Linked DNA regions of Homo sapiens: regions 2, 3 and 4 are each linked to region 1. Evidence: promoter capture Hi-C in 16 types of primary human blood cells and fetal thymus (Javierre and others, 2016). All regions are on one chromosome and are shown on one strand. The core of a region is centred on a gene start or on the middle of the fragment in contact, and the rest is flanking DNA. Distances in the headings are between cores, read along the strand shown. Region 1 holds the start of HBEGF (heparin binding EGF like growth factor). Region 2 overlaps LOC105378198 (a long non-coding RNA gene). Region 3 overlaps IK (IK cytokine). Region 4 has its middle 25 kb from the start of CD14.

The links. The method cuts DNA at HindIII sites, captures the fragments that hold promoters and counts their contacts. A CHiCAGO score of 5 or more calls a contact.
Region 2: a contact is called between a fragment that was not itself captured here and the fragment with the promoter of HBEGF in region 1, in 5 of 17 cell types (naive CD4 T cells, total CD8 T cells, naive B cells and 2 more). The highest score is 7.1, in naive CD4 T cells.
Region 3: a contact is called between a fragment that was not itself captured here and the fragment with the promoter of HBEGF in region 1, in 1 of 17 cell types (neutrophils). The highest score is 5.5, in neutrophils.
Region 4: a fragment that was not itself captured here is called in contact with the fragment with the promoter of HBEGF in region 1 in 1 of 17 cell types (monocytes); the score reaches 5.9 in monocytes.

What each region holds. Positions count from the first base shown.
Region 1 is chr5:140,345,119-140,348,527 of GRCh38, forward strand. HBEGF (heparin binding EGF like growth factor) reads right to left here and starts at 1,485. Exons shown (of 6, transcript NM_001945.3): 1 at 1,165-1,485; 2 at 793-966. The coding sequence starts at 1,210. RefSeq lists silencers at 1,400-1,679, 1,720-1,769. The HindIII fragment of the contact is 6,957 bases long and covers 1-3,409 here.
Region 2 is chr5:140,735,193-140,738,601 of GRCh38, forward strand. The region is part of intron 3 of LOC105378198 (a long non-coding RNA gene); the gene reads left to right. Among named protein-coding and RNA genes, the nearest start is that of ZMAT2, 36 kb to the left of the region's middle. The HindIII fragment of the contact is 5,793 bases long and covers 1-3,409 here.
Region 3 is chr5:140,657,299-140,660,707 of GRCh38, forward strand. It overlaps IK (IK cytokine), which reads left to right. Exons shown (of 20, transcript NM_006083.4): 10 at 256-364; 11 at 1,439-1,478; 12 at 1,641-1,866; 13 at 2,017-2,035; 14 at 2,458-2,536; 15 at 2,817-2,897. Among named protein-coding and RNA genes, the nearest start is that of WDR55, 5.9 kb to the right of the region's middle. The HindIII fragment of the contact is 2,419 bases long and covers 344-2,762 here.
Region 4 is chr5:140,606,304-140,609,712 of GRCh38, forward strand. It overlaps a transcript of TMCO6 not described here and the pseudogene RPL36P11. Among named protein-coding and RNA genes, the nearest start is that of CD14, 25 kb to the right of the region's middle. The HindIII fragment of the contact is 1,243 bases long and covers 946-2,188 here.

The sequences.
Region 1 (3,409 bases), core at 235-2,734:
ATATAGTCATTCCAGGGTACAGTGCTGAGTCCTTGCTCTACTCTGGATAATCTCCTCAGGTTTGGAGGCAGGAGAGCTGGCAGGCTCTGGACTCTGCCCTGTACCTGTACTTGGCCACAGCCAAAGAGGCTGGTTGGAGGATCCTACACAGCCCTCCCCATTTGGAGTCTCCTCAGGAATGCAAGGTGCTCAGTAAGCTGCAGGTTTCCGGTAGCATTCACAGATATCCAGCATTTTAATACAGCCCCCTAGGGGCTCAGTGCTCACCATTCACAGCCTCATCTAGGGCGGCCAAGAGCTCCTCATTCCCCTCTGTTTCCCCAATCTGGAGACAGGTGGATGGAGGAGGCCAACACTGCACACTTTCTAGAGATGTGCCTGGGCATCTCCGCATGTGTTACCTCTATTTTATATATAATAGTCATTTGATATGGGAATTAGAACTGGCGCCCATTTTTACATAGTAGCTCTAGGGAAAGCATCTCAACCATTCCTTGTTCCTATCACCCAGCTTACCTAAGAAGAACGTAACAACCCCAGACAACACGTCTGATTCAATTTGCCCCGGAGTACCCAGAAGGGCAGCAACCCAGCAGGTGAGGCAATGACAAGAGAGAGAGAGTGGGACCTATATTCCAGGATCCCCCAGTGCCCATCAGGCCGATCAGCTTTTCCCCGAGGTTCTCCATGAATACCCTCAACCCACAGTATTGCCCAAACAGCAAGAATCTTGGATCTGCTTATTCTTCAACAGCCCACCAAGGTCCAAGGATGGGGGGCCTCCACACCCACCTCTCAAAAGGTCCAGATCTGCCTCTTGCAAGTCACGGACTTTCCGGTCCCGGCCGCCTCCTAGGGGTAGCAGCTGGTCCGTGGATACAGTGGGAGGGTCCGGGTTGCTGGTTCCAGCAGCTAGCCCTCTCCGAAGCCGCTCCAGGCTCTCGCCAGTCACCAGTGCCGAGAGAACTGCGGGCGAGAGGCCAGGCCGCATCAGACACCCGCCCAGACCCCTGACCAACACGCACCGATGCCGACGCCCGTCCGCCAGAGCGCAAGGGCCCCACCAAGTGGCCCGTGCCGGGTGCGCTGCGGCGACCTTCCCCCATGCCCCCAGCACAACGCCCCCATCCCCCCGATCTCCGGGGGCGTCGGCAGCCCTCTTACCTGCAGCCAGAAAGAGCTTCAGCACCACCGACGGCAGCAGCTTCATGGTCCCGCACCGAGAGGAGGCGGCGAGGCACCAGTCACTTTCGAAGCGGCGGCCACTGGGCGCTGGCACCAGAGCTGGGCGGCGGAGCTCAGGAGATTCCGCCGGGCACCGTCTGCCGCCCGCCTCTGCGTGCAAGCCTGGCCGGGACCCAGGCGCAGCTCGCTCTTCTTGAGTGTCTTGTCTTGCTCACTCAGCCCGCCCGCGCGGCCGCCCGACCCCGCGCGCCTAGGTCAGGCCAGCCAGCAGCGTGGCCCGCGTAGCTCCTTCGGCCGAATGAGCGCTGCCCGGCTCGCGGCCGGGAATAAGGCTCCAGGAGGCGCGGAAGCTCCGCCCCGCCCGGCGCCGCCCCCTCCCTCCTCCCGTGCTGGGAAGCTCGCCCGGCTCGCGGCGCCGGCAGCGCAGCCCCCGACCCCGCGGGCGCGGCGGAGGACTGGGCGGGAGGAGAGGGCGGCGTTCACAATTTTTGGGACCAGGCCGAGGCAGCCGCGGCCTGATTGTGGGTAGGGCTACTGACCGGCAGGTGGCGGAGAGCGGTTCCTACCTTTCCCCAAACGCCTGTCACTCTGCAGCCTTGTGACTGACTGCTGAGCTGAGTTCTGTTCCGGGCCTGGCCTCTTGCTTCATCTAAGCCCCATACCAGGGGTCTCCATCCCTGTCACCCTCTAAGTTTCAGAAGCCCACCTTTTGGCCTACCAACACGGCAAGTATCAAATAATAATTAATTCATCTATCATTTAAAAATTAGACACGTGAATGCCAGCCGTTCTCATAAACCCGAGATAACCAGAGTTGAAGTTGCAGGCACTTAGTATCAATCCAGCAAAAGCAAAGGAAGTTAGTACTCTCTTAGTCTCTGGAGTGGCTTCCTCCCATCTTCCCTCAGGGGACATTAGGATTTTTGAACTATGGGTTGTAATTCCCAGGCTTCTGAGATTGGAGAGACACAGGTTGTGAAACAAGCCTTATTCTTTTCCTTGCCTTTGACTGCCACCTTTTTCCTCAACATAAAAAATGAGCCACCCTCCCATAGGACCCAGCTGGCTAACCTAGATTGCTGTTTCACAGACACTAGGTGTTTCTCTTCCAACCCATGTGCTTTTGCAGGGGTCTTCTGGAGTCACTGTCCTGACCCAAAGAAATGAGTGTCTCAGTAGGTATTTCAGTTTCCAGGGACGTGCTGGGGAGAGAGTTGTTTGACACAGGGCTGGGTTGGCTTTCAGAGCCCTGAAATTGTGCCAGATAGAGCACTTGCCGGATTCTGCCTGTGTGTAGGGATAAAAACAGGCCTGCTATTTATACACAGTCTATCCCACTGTCCCTCCCTATCCCCACCTTTGCAGGGGTCAGTCTGGCCCTGCCCTCTTAACTTGCTCCAGTAACCTAGGCCTAGGTTTCCATAGTGCACTGGAATCACTACAGACCTGAGTTTGAATCCTGCCTTTGCTACTTACTGTGTGACCTTGGACAAGAAACTTAATTTCACTGAGCCTCAGTTTTGACGTCTCTCAAATGGAAAAAATAATAACAATAATAATAATGACTACTTTGTAGGGAGCTTTTTGAGAAATGAATGCGGGAACACATAAAAGTAGTTAGTATAGTGCCAGGCACACTATAAGCTCTCAATAAATGTGACCCATTATTATTGTTGCTGTTAATAATAATCACTAAGCACTTGACCACTCTATTTCCTTAGAGGCCTCTTTTCTCTCACTTCTCTAGATCGCTTGCCTTCCCCTAGGCCATATCTGAGGCTTTATGATATAGTTGGGCTGGTTTCAGACAGAAGCTCACCTGTCACCTATTTGGCTAAGAGCCACTGTTAGATTATCCTTTTGGGTGATGAGTATCGGGCCTAGGACCTCAGTGCATGGTCACCGCCCAAGCCATGACTTTGCCCTCCCTCAGCAGCTGCCTGGCCACCTGCTTCCCCAAAACAAAGCCACCTTGGGGTCAAGGCTCTCCCCAGGGGAGGGTGGAGAGAAACACTTCCTGACACATGGTCAAATCACCCCCTTTCCCCCACCCTCGCCAGAGTCACACCCTGCTCTCTTGCCCCAGCCTGCCTTTCTCCCTTCACATGCTCTGTCCTTCCGCCTTCTCACCCCCACATCAGCCTCAGTCCCATTCATGGGGCAACTCCAAACTTTCATCACACCTGGAGCCTCACCCCAGCTAGGTTTGTGTGTCAGCCAGGTT
Region 2 (3,409 bases), core at 511-3,010, 390 kb after region 1:
ACAGGTATGAGCCACTGCACCAAACCAGAAAACTGAGTTTTAAAAAGATTAAGATTTTTATGTCTATGTAGCTTTCTCCTTAGATTCTGGGACTCCCACCCTTGCTACTGTACATAACCACTGAATGCCCAAAGAAAAAATATCAAACACTGACAACAGCTCCTCTTTGTTAGATATCATGCCTCTGCAGGCTTCTAGAAGGCTTGCAACAAAACCAGTTCGTGGTTCACTCACATAATAGATATCTTGTTCATAAATGAACGTATAAATTGGCATACCCTTGGAGGTATAACTTGTGCCCCTTGAGGACACACTTTCCTATATAGAATTGAGTCAGATCCCCCAGTTCAAGAAGAGGCACACAGATGCATAAACAGCTGGCAAGTTGAAGGACTTTGCCTTCTAGGTCATTACGTTGCCCTCTTTTCCATCCATCTCAATCATAAAGAAAATCTTGCTTTCCGGTAAGCTAAAAGAGAGCTACCAAGTGGATATCAGGATATGTGGTAGCATAGTTTTTGGGGTGTAATTTTTCTCAGCTACGGAGTATACACTAACAGAGATACGATAAAAAAAAATGCCGGCCACCATAGGACAAATTGCTGAAAATGCTGCAATAAGTATTATGACACAGTAGAAGTCCTTAAATTCTCTCGCTCAAGTGGTTTTAGACAATCAAATTGCACCAGGTTTTCTCATTGCTAAACAAGGGGGAATTTGCATGATAGCCCACACCACTTGTTGCACTTATATCAACATTATAGGAGATTTAACAACCCATGTAGGTAAGATCACCCAACAGGCTGCCTGGTTACAGGAGGTACAAACCACAGATCCCCTTAATAACGTTTTTAGCTGACTCATTGCAGTATTAGAAATTACTTCCAATCCATCTTACAAACCCTTGTCATTATCATATCACTATCTTGTTCCTATTTTTGATAGTCAAAGTACTTATAAGATCTATAACCAACTACTTCAAGTCTGTCACTAAAACCAAAGTTATGGTAGCACAATGCATAGAAATGACAGACAACATAAACATAAACTTACCTTCTCAACTTTTCTGTTGTTACTGTTTTTCTAGTCTCAAAGGTTCAAAGGGTCTTAATAGCTGTCTGCCTCCTTCTTGCCTGGCCTAAAATATTCAACTGGTTGTAAGTCTCCTAGCCACATGAGTCCCACTGACAGACTAGATAGACCTGGGGCAGGTATCCACACCATCCTGGGAACGACATGGGACATGTTAGAAAATTTAGCCATCAATGCTGCCTATGGCAGATTTCAGCCTAAAGCTGGAAAGTGTGAAATAAAACTAAAGTCCCTAAGCCCCTAGGTGAAACAGAATGGACTTCTTGTTGCAAAAGAGACCCCAGAAACTTTGAAAACTGCATTCTATGGCTTTGGCAAGGCAAGAGGTCAGTCACACCTCAACACTCCCCTACCTTGTTAACTGCCTCAAAACTTTCCTTCCTACAATTAAACAGAAACGAGTTCCTAAAAAACTGTCTGGAAGATTTCTCCCTCAACCTCAAGAGACCTCTTGATGTCATGGCTGACCTCCCCTCTTTTATCGTGGTTTCACCATGACTACTGACCAGCCTTATTAAACATTCCATTGTTATACTGACCACCGACCACAGACTGATTGCACCTAGTCCACAGAGGCTGTGCACAAGATGCCTTTGTGTTCTGTTTCACCTTGTTATATATAAACAGCCACGTGCCACTTCACTTTACTATTAAATCCCCACCCCAAAATGAACATGGAACATATGTAACATATATGTTTATTCTCTTTGCATGCATTAGGGTTTTCTCAAATATTCATAGATTCTCCTATAAGCTACTGAATATGTACATATAGCTCATCTTGTTGGGCATAAGTCCCAGCTTCTCCCTTTTGTCTCTGAAGCAGATGCTTTTCATTTTGGCTGGATGTTTCATTTCCCAACCTGCAGATTGTAACCATTTATAGGAAATAAAACTCTCTTTTTTCTTCTTCCTCAAATCTCATGATCTTTTGTTAATACTTCCCTTCCCAGCAGGGGGGATTATATGAGAAGACTGGACTTAGACCTCTACCCAGTGGTAATGTGGCCATCCTCACTGTGGTGTCAGGGGAGCCAGAACTTCCATGCTTACCCAGCAGTAACAATGAGCTCCCTTCTTCAGGTGGCAATGGAGGCTCTGTGGGGAACCTGGACTTCTGCCTGCACCTGGCAGTAATTAGGTGACATCTCCTTCTTTCTCTGTTCCCCCTTCTGCCTAAATGGTATCAGAGAAATCCCACTAAAACAGAAGGTTTAAATAGGATCCAGAGTAGCGGAATATAATATGAACATATCCAGGTTTTAATGAAAAGTTACTTATCATACCAGAAGATCTCAAACAGAATGAAAAAATGACAATCAACAGATGCCAACATTGTGATGACAGAGATATTAGAATTATCTGACAGAAATTTTAAATTAGCCATTGTAAAAATGCTTCAATAAGCAATTATAAACATTCTTGGAATAAATGAAAAATAGAATGCATAAGCAAAGAAATAGATGATAAAAGAAGAACTAAATGGAAATTTTAGAACTGAAAAATATAATAACTGAAATAAAAACCTCAGTGGATGGGGTGGGTGGGTTCAGCAGCATAATGGAGGAGGCAGAAAAAATAACAAGTGAACTAGAAGATAGAATAATAAAAATTATCCAACCTAAACAACAGAGAGAAATTAGACGGAAAAAAATGAATAGACTTTGATAAGTTGTGGACAGAGCAACCGCTAACATGTTATACAAAGAGATGCACTAAAAAACATAGTATTAACTCAAAATAGAATTTTAGAAAATATTAAAGTAAGATGAAGGCACGAAGAATAAAACAGAGAAGTGAAAATCCAAATGAACAGGAGGCCAGGTGCAGTGGCTCACACCTATAATCCCAGCATTTTGGGAGGCCGAGGTAGGAGGATCACTTGAGGCCAGAAGTTTGAGACCATCTTGGGTGACATAGTGAGACCTCGTCTCTACAAAAAAATAAAAATAAAAAAGCCCCAAAATGAACAATTAGTAAAATACAACATAGATTTCCTTTAGTAACAATTCTCCTCATATCCTTCCTTATTCTTCTTTTTATTCTTCTCTATGATTACCTATTAATGATGAAATACTAGATGTTTTACTTTCTATTTCTTCATAGGATTCCTCTGAATATATTTCTTTCTTTCTCTCTCTCTCTCTTTTTTTTTTTTTTTGAGACAGAGTCTCACTCTGCTGCCCAGGCTGGAGTACAGTGGTGCGATCTCAGCTCACTGCAACCTCTGTCTCCCAGGTTCAAGTGATTCTCATGCCTCAGTTTCGTGGGATTACAGGTGCACACCACCACTCCCGGCTAATTTTTGTATCAGTAG
Region 3 (3,409 bases), core at 303-2,802, 310 kb after region 1:
GACTTTGAGCCTCTGCAACATCTGGCCTTTCTAGAATGTTCTAGACTCCTGACTTTCTTGAATGGTCTTGATTCATTTTGATGCAGGGCTTTTGTGCAGGCTGTTTTATCTCTGGAATATCCTTTCACAGCACTTCGTTTCCCTCCCTTCACCTACTGTATTGTAATTCAGTCTTTAGTTTGTTAAGTGAATGAATGAATAAATGAAGAGATTTCTGCTGAGTGGTTTAACATTCTTGTTTCTTGGTATTTTCAGGCCCAGACCACACTGACCACAAATGACATTGTCATTAGCAAGCTGACCCAGATCCTTTCATACCTGAGGCAGGGAACCCGTAACAAGAAGCTTAAGAAGAAGGATAAAGGTACCTGGAGGGTTAGAGAGAGAAGCCTTACCCACAGAGGACGTTTGGGGATAAAACCAAGGTCTCCTGGAGCTTTCTGTCTCCAGAATATTGAGAGGCTCCTGGGAAGCAGAGAAAAATGGGAGTACTGGAGCATTGGCAAGGAGACAGTTACAGCCAGATTCTGTCTCCTTAACCTACCTAAGAAGCAGTGGTCAGGTCTGAAGCATGAGGGATGGAGAGTGGGTAGCTTATGTCCTATTTATTTATTTTTTTTAAAAGAGATTTTTTGGTGAAAACCAGAAAACCTAGACAGATTCTAAAAAGGCTCTAATACTTGACCGACATTTTATTTTATTTTATTTATTTATTTTTTGAGACGGAGTCTCGCTCTGTCACCCAGGCTGGAGTACAGTGGTGCGATGTCTGCTCACTGCAACCTCTGCCTCCCGGGGTCAAGCGATTCTTCTGCCTCAGCCTCCCAAGTAGGCACTATAGGCACTATAGGCACGCATCACCACGCCTGGCTAATTTTTGTATTTTCAGTAGAGATGGGGTTTCACTGTATTGGCCTGGCTGGCCTCGAACTCCTGACCTTATGATGTGCCCACCTCGGCCTCCCAAAGTGCTGGGATTACAGGCATGAGCCACTCTTCCTGGCCTTATTTTATTATTTTTATTTATTTATTTATTTTGAGACGAGTCTCGTTTTGTCGCCCAGGCTGGAGTGCAGTGATGCCATCTCGGCTCACTGCAACCTCTGCCTCCTGGGTTTAAGCAATTCTCTTGCCTCAGCCTCCTGAGTAGCTGGGATTACAGGCACCTGCCATCACACCCGGCTAATTTTTTTGTACTTTTAGTAGAGATGGGGTTTCACCATGTTAGCCAGGCTGGTCTCAAACTCCTGACCTCAAGTGATCCGCCCGCCTTGGCCTCCCGAAGTGCTGGGATTACAGGCGTGAGCCACCGCACCCAGCCTTGACCCACGTTTTAAACAGAAGATGTTTAAAAGGGCATTAAGAGCTGGAGAGGATGGTGAAGTTCAGTGGAAATTAACTGAGGAGTATGTTCCTGACTCCTCTCTTTAAATTTCAGGGAAGCTGGAAGAGAAGAAACCTCCTGAGGCTGACATGAAGTATGTATCCTAGCCCCTGGCATCTGATCAGAGGGAGGGGGTCTGTACATTTCTTGTGTCTGGCATTTTGGGGAGGTGCTGACATGAGAATCTGGAGAAATGGTCAGGGGGAGTGAAGGTGTATGTGTGAATTTGGCCAGCTAGTGATCTCCATTTTCCCAGTATTTTTGAAGACATTGGGGATTACGTACCCTCCACAACCAAGACACCTCGGGACAAGGAGCGGGAGAGATATCGGGAACGGGAGCGTGATCGGGAAAGAGACAGAGACCGTGACCGAGAGCGAGAGCGAGAACGAGATCGGGAACGAGAGCGAGAGCGGGACCGAGAGAGAGAAGAGGAAAAGAAGAGACACAGCTACTTTGAGAAGCCAAAAGTAGATGATGAGGTGAGATGTGGGCCCTTAGTACCAGGTGATGGAGTTGCCCCTCTCTGGAAATGTGAGCAAGGTTGGGTAAGGAATTGTTTCAAACTTGGGGGAGGGATGAGTAGGAATCTCTCATGGTAACACTAACTTCACATTTTGTGTTCTTTCCAGCCCATGGACGTTGACAAAGGTGAGTTGTACACACAGCATCTCACAGTTGCTCTAGCAGTCCTGCTTTCCCCTGGTAGGGCTCAGAGCTGGCAACGGTGGGATTGGGGGACCTCCTGGTTCTGGGTTCTTGTAAGAACTGTGTCTTGCTTTATTGAATAGGTGGAGTTCCCTCCACCTTCCTGGGCCATGGCAGGGCATATTTGCTCTTAGATATAATTCCTGTGGCCCTGGGGTTCTGAGGAGGTGAGGTAGAGGTCAAGTATGGAATGTTCTGGATACCCTACCCTCATCTCAACCAGAGTGACTCATTAATTGGAGTTTGTTTAAAACTTTGTTAGACAAAAGGGTTCTATGCCTTAAAAATGTTTTTTAAGTGTGTTGTGGGGAGGAGGTTGTGAGAGCCTCAGTTCAAGGTCTGGGCTGAGTTCTCTTTTCTCCTAGGACCTGGGTCTACCAAGGAGTTGATCAAGTCCATCAATGAAAAGTTTGCTGGGTCTGCTGGCTGGGAAGGCACAGAATCATATCCTTTATTTTAATACGTTCCTGGGTTCCAGAGAACTGGTCTCTTTACTCCAACCCCCCCTGCCTCCCTGCTCCCTCCTACCCTGCCCCTCTCCTTCCCTTTTACGCTGAATTTTGACAGAATGAAACCATCCCTTGTTCCTTCCCAGAGCACCCATAACAGCTCACAGCCCACTCAGAATTTTCATGTTGGGGCTTCTAGCCCTTGGCCCCCTCCTGGCTGAAGCTTTACAGCAATAGGTAGAATCCTGTGTAGTGTTTTCTTTAACATAGCATATGCTGAAGAAGCCAGAAGACAAAAAGCAGCTGGGAGATTTCTTTGGCATGTCCAACAGTTATGCAGAGTGCTACCCAGCCACGTATGTGAAACCTGGTTAAGGAAGGGAGGCTGGGATGATTGGGAAACAAGTTGGGGGTGAAATGGAAATTTGATTCGCTAAGTCCCAGGGCTACTTCTTTTTTTTTTTTTTTTTTTTTTGGAGACAGAGTCTCACTCTGTCACCCAGGCTGGAATGCAATGGTATAATCTCTGCTCGCTGCAATCTCCATCTCCCGGGTTCAAGCGATTCTCCTGCCTCACCCTCCCAAGTAGCTGGGATTATAGGCATGCATCACCACACCTGGCTAGTTTTTGTATTTTTAGTAGAGATGAGGTTTCACCATGTTGGTGAGGCTGGTCTTGAACTCCTGACCTCAGGTAATCTGCCCTCCTCAGCCTCCAAAAGTGCGGGGATTACAGGAGTGAGCCACTGCGCCTGGCCCAAGGCTACTTCTTACTTGGATGAACTATTTTATTAGGCTCTAAGTGGGAGGTCTAGGGGGTGGTCATTCCTATGCAGATAACCTCTTAGTCGGGTAGGTTTCCAGATGA
Region 4 (3,409 bases), core at 317-2,816, 260 kb after region 1:
AGGCCTGGCTAAATAAACAAAAAAATTGTAGAGATGGGGTCTGTCTATGTTGCCCAGGCTGGTACTTTCATTTCTGATTTTAGTTATTTGTACTTTCTTTTTTTTCTCAGACTAAAGGTTTGTCAATTTTGTTGATCTTTTAAAAGAACCAACTCTTGGTTTTACCGATTTTCTATTTTTTCCATTCCTTATTTTGTTTATCTATGCTCTAATTTTTAATTTTAATTCTGGCAATATATACATAGTCATGCACCACATAATAATGTTTTGGTCAAACTTGAACAGTATAAACAAGGGTGGTCCCATTAGATTATAATGGAGCAGAAAAATCTCTATTGCCCAGCTGGGTGTGGTGGCTCACGCCTGTAATCCTAGCACTTTGGGAGGCCGAGGCAGGCAGATTGCCCAAGCTCAGGAGTTCGAGACCAACCTGGGCAACACGGTGAAACCCTGTCTCTACTAAAATACAAAAGAAATTAACTGGGCATGGTGGCATGCGCCTGTAGTCCCAGCTACTCGGGAGGCTGAAGATGACAGCTCCATGCTTATTAATTGCCCCTGAAGACCTTCCAGTGGGACAAGATGTGGGGGTGGAATACAACGATGTTGATGAGCTTGACTCTGTGTAGGCCCGGGCTAATGTGTGTGGTTTGTGTCTTAGTTTTTAACAAAATAGTTTAAAAAGTAAAAAAAAAAAATAATAATAATAATAATGGAAAAAACCTTATAGACTACTGTTTAAAATAAAATTTGCTATTTTGGCCATTTTTAAGTGTATAATAAATACAGTGGTATTAATTGCATTCACAATATTGTGCAACCATTGCTACTATTTACAATGCTTTTCATCATCCTAAACAGAAACTCTGTACCCATTATGCAATAACTCCCTGTCTCCTCTCCCTCTAGAACCCATTAACCTTTAATCTACTTACCATCTGACTAAGCTTACCTATTATAGATACTCAGCATAAGTGGAATCATACAATATTTGCCTTTTTGTGTCTGGCTTATTTCACTTAGCATAATGTTGTCAAGGTTTATCTATGTTGTAACATGTATCAGACGTCATTACTTTCTGTGGCTAAATAATATTCCGTTGTCTGTGTATACCACATTTTATGTATTCATTTATCCACTAGTGGACACTTGAATCATTTCCATGTTTTAGCTATAGTGTATAGTGTTGATATGAACATTTTGGTACAAAATTTTGTTTGGATATGCCTTTCCAATTCTTTTGGGTATATAATGAGGAGTACAATTATTGGATTATATGGTAAAATTAATTATATATTTAACTTTTTGACAAACTGCTAAATTATTTTCCACAGTGGCTGTACCATATCACATTCCCACCGAAAATTTATGAGGGTTCCTTCTTCTCCACCTTCTTGCCAACACTTGTTTCCAATTTTTTTTATTGTTGTTGATTAGTGCTATACTAGTGAGTGTGAAGTGGTATCTCATTGTGGCTTTTCTATTTTCTTTTTTTTTTTTTTCTGAGACAGGGTCTCTCTCTGTTGCCCAGGCTGGAGTGCAATGGCGCAATCTCGGTTCACTGCAACCTCCGCTTCCCAGGTTGAAGTGATTCTCCTGCCTCAGCCTCCCAAGTAGCTGGGATTACAGGCACTCACCACCAGGCCTGGCTAATTTTTGTATTTTTGGTAAAGACAGGGTTTCTCTATGTTGGCCAGGCTGGTCTCGAAATCCTGACCTGAAATGATCTGCCCGCCTCGGCCTCTCCAAGTGCTGGGATTACATGCGTGAGCCACTGCGCCCAGCCTCTCATTGTGTTTTTGGTTTGCATTACCTTAATGGCCAATGATTTTGAGCATCTTTTCTTATGTTTGTTAGTCATTTATTATAATTTCTTTGTGGCAATGTTCAGTCAAGTTCTTTGCCCAGGTTTTAATTTGCCTGTTTGTTTTTGGTATTTTACTAATGAATAATAATGTTGAGCATCTTTTCATGGACTTTCAGGCATTTGTGTGCCTTTGGAGAAATGGCTATTCAAGCCCTTTTCCCATATTTTTACTTGATTTGTTTGCCTTTTTGTTGCCGAGTTGTAGGAATCCTATATAAACTCTGGGTAGTAAACCATTACCAGGTATATAATTTGCAACATTTTCTCCCATTTTGTAGGTTGTCTTTTCACTTTATTTGGTAATGCCTTTTGATGCACAAAAGCTTTTAATTTTGAATTCCAGTTTATTATTATTTATTTTGTTGCTCAGGCTTTTGGAGTCATATCTAATAATCCACTGCTAAATCAAAGGCCACAAAGATTAGTTTCTGTGTTTTCTTCTAAGAGCTTTATGGTTTTGGCTCTTACATTTAGGTAATCAATTAATGTGGAATTAATTTTTGTATATGATTTGAGGTAAGGGTCCAACTTCATACATCTGCATATGGATATCCAGGTGTCCCTTTGCCATTAGTTGAAACTAGTGTTTCCTTACTGGATGTTCTTGACAACCTTGTCAAAATAAGTTTCCCATAGACATGTGGGTATATTTCTGAACTCTCACTTCTATTCCATTGATCTGTCTGCTTATCCTTATGCTACTACCACACTGTCTTAGTTACTGTTGCTTTGCAATAATGTTTTGAAATCAGGAAGTGTGAGTCCTCCAACTTTGCTCTTCTTTTACAAGGTTGTTTTATCTATTCTGCACCCATTGAACTTCTATATAAACTTTACAATTAGCTTGTCAATTTCTATAAAGAAACCAGCTAGGATTCTTATAAGACTTTCATTGAGATTGAAAAGGAGTAGCCATGGCTCTGTGCCACCCCATGACTGGGGTCTCAGCAAGGGCCCAGGTAATGATGGGGTAAGGAGAAAGCCCAGGCTCAGTCGCCACCACCATGGGCACCTCACCAAGAACACTGAGTTTGTGCAGACCTGGCCTGAAAGGGGTATGGCTTTGCCCCAAACGAGCGGCATGCCATGGAGTTGCTTGAGGTTTCTAAGGACAACTGGGCCCTCAAGTTCATCAAGAAAAGGGTGGGGACACACATCTGTGCCAACAGGAAGCAGGAGGAGCTGAGCAACATCCTGGCCGCCAAGAGGAAAGCAGCTGCCCACAAGGAATGAGCCACCCTCCCCTGTGAGCATAATAAAATCTTTATTTTATTATGGAACTTGTGGTCCTCCTCAGCAGCCTCCCTGGCATTGGAAAGGAGGGGAGGTCCAGTCTGTTCATCTGTTTGGGACCCACCCCCGGGCAGGACCACACCCTGTCCTGGATCCAAGCCCCCTACCTCGGGCATGGGGCAACAGGCATAGAAGCAAGTGCTGGAAATGATTTCTAATCATAATGCAATATCTCATACACACCAAAAAAAAAAGAATTTCATTGAATCTGTAGGTGAATTAGGGGAGAATTGTCATCTTGACAATCAT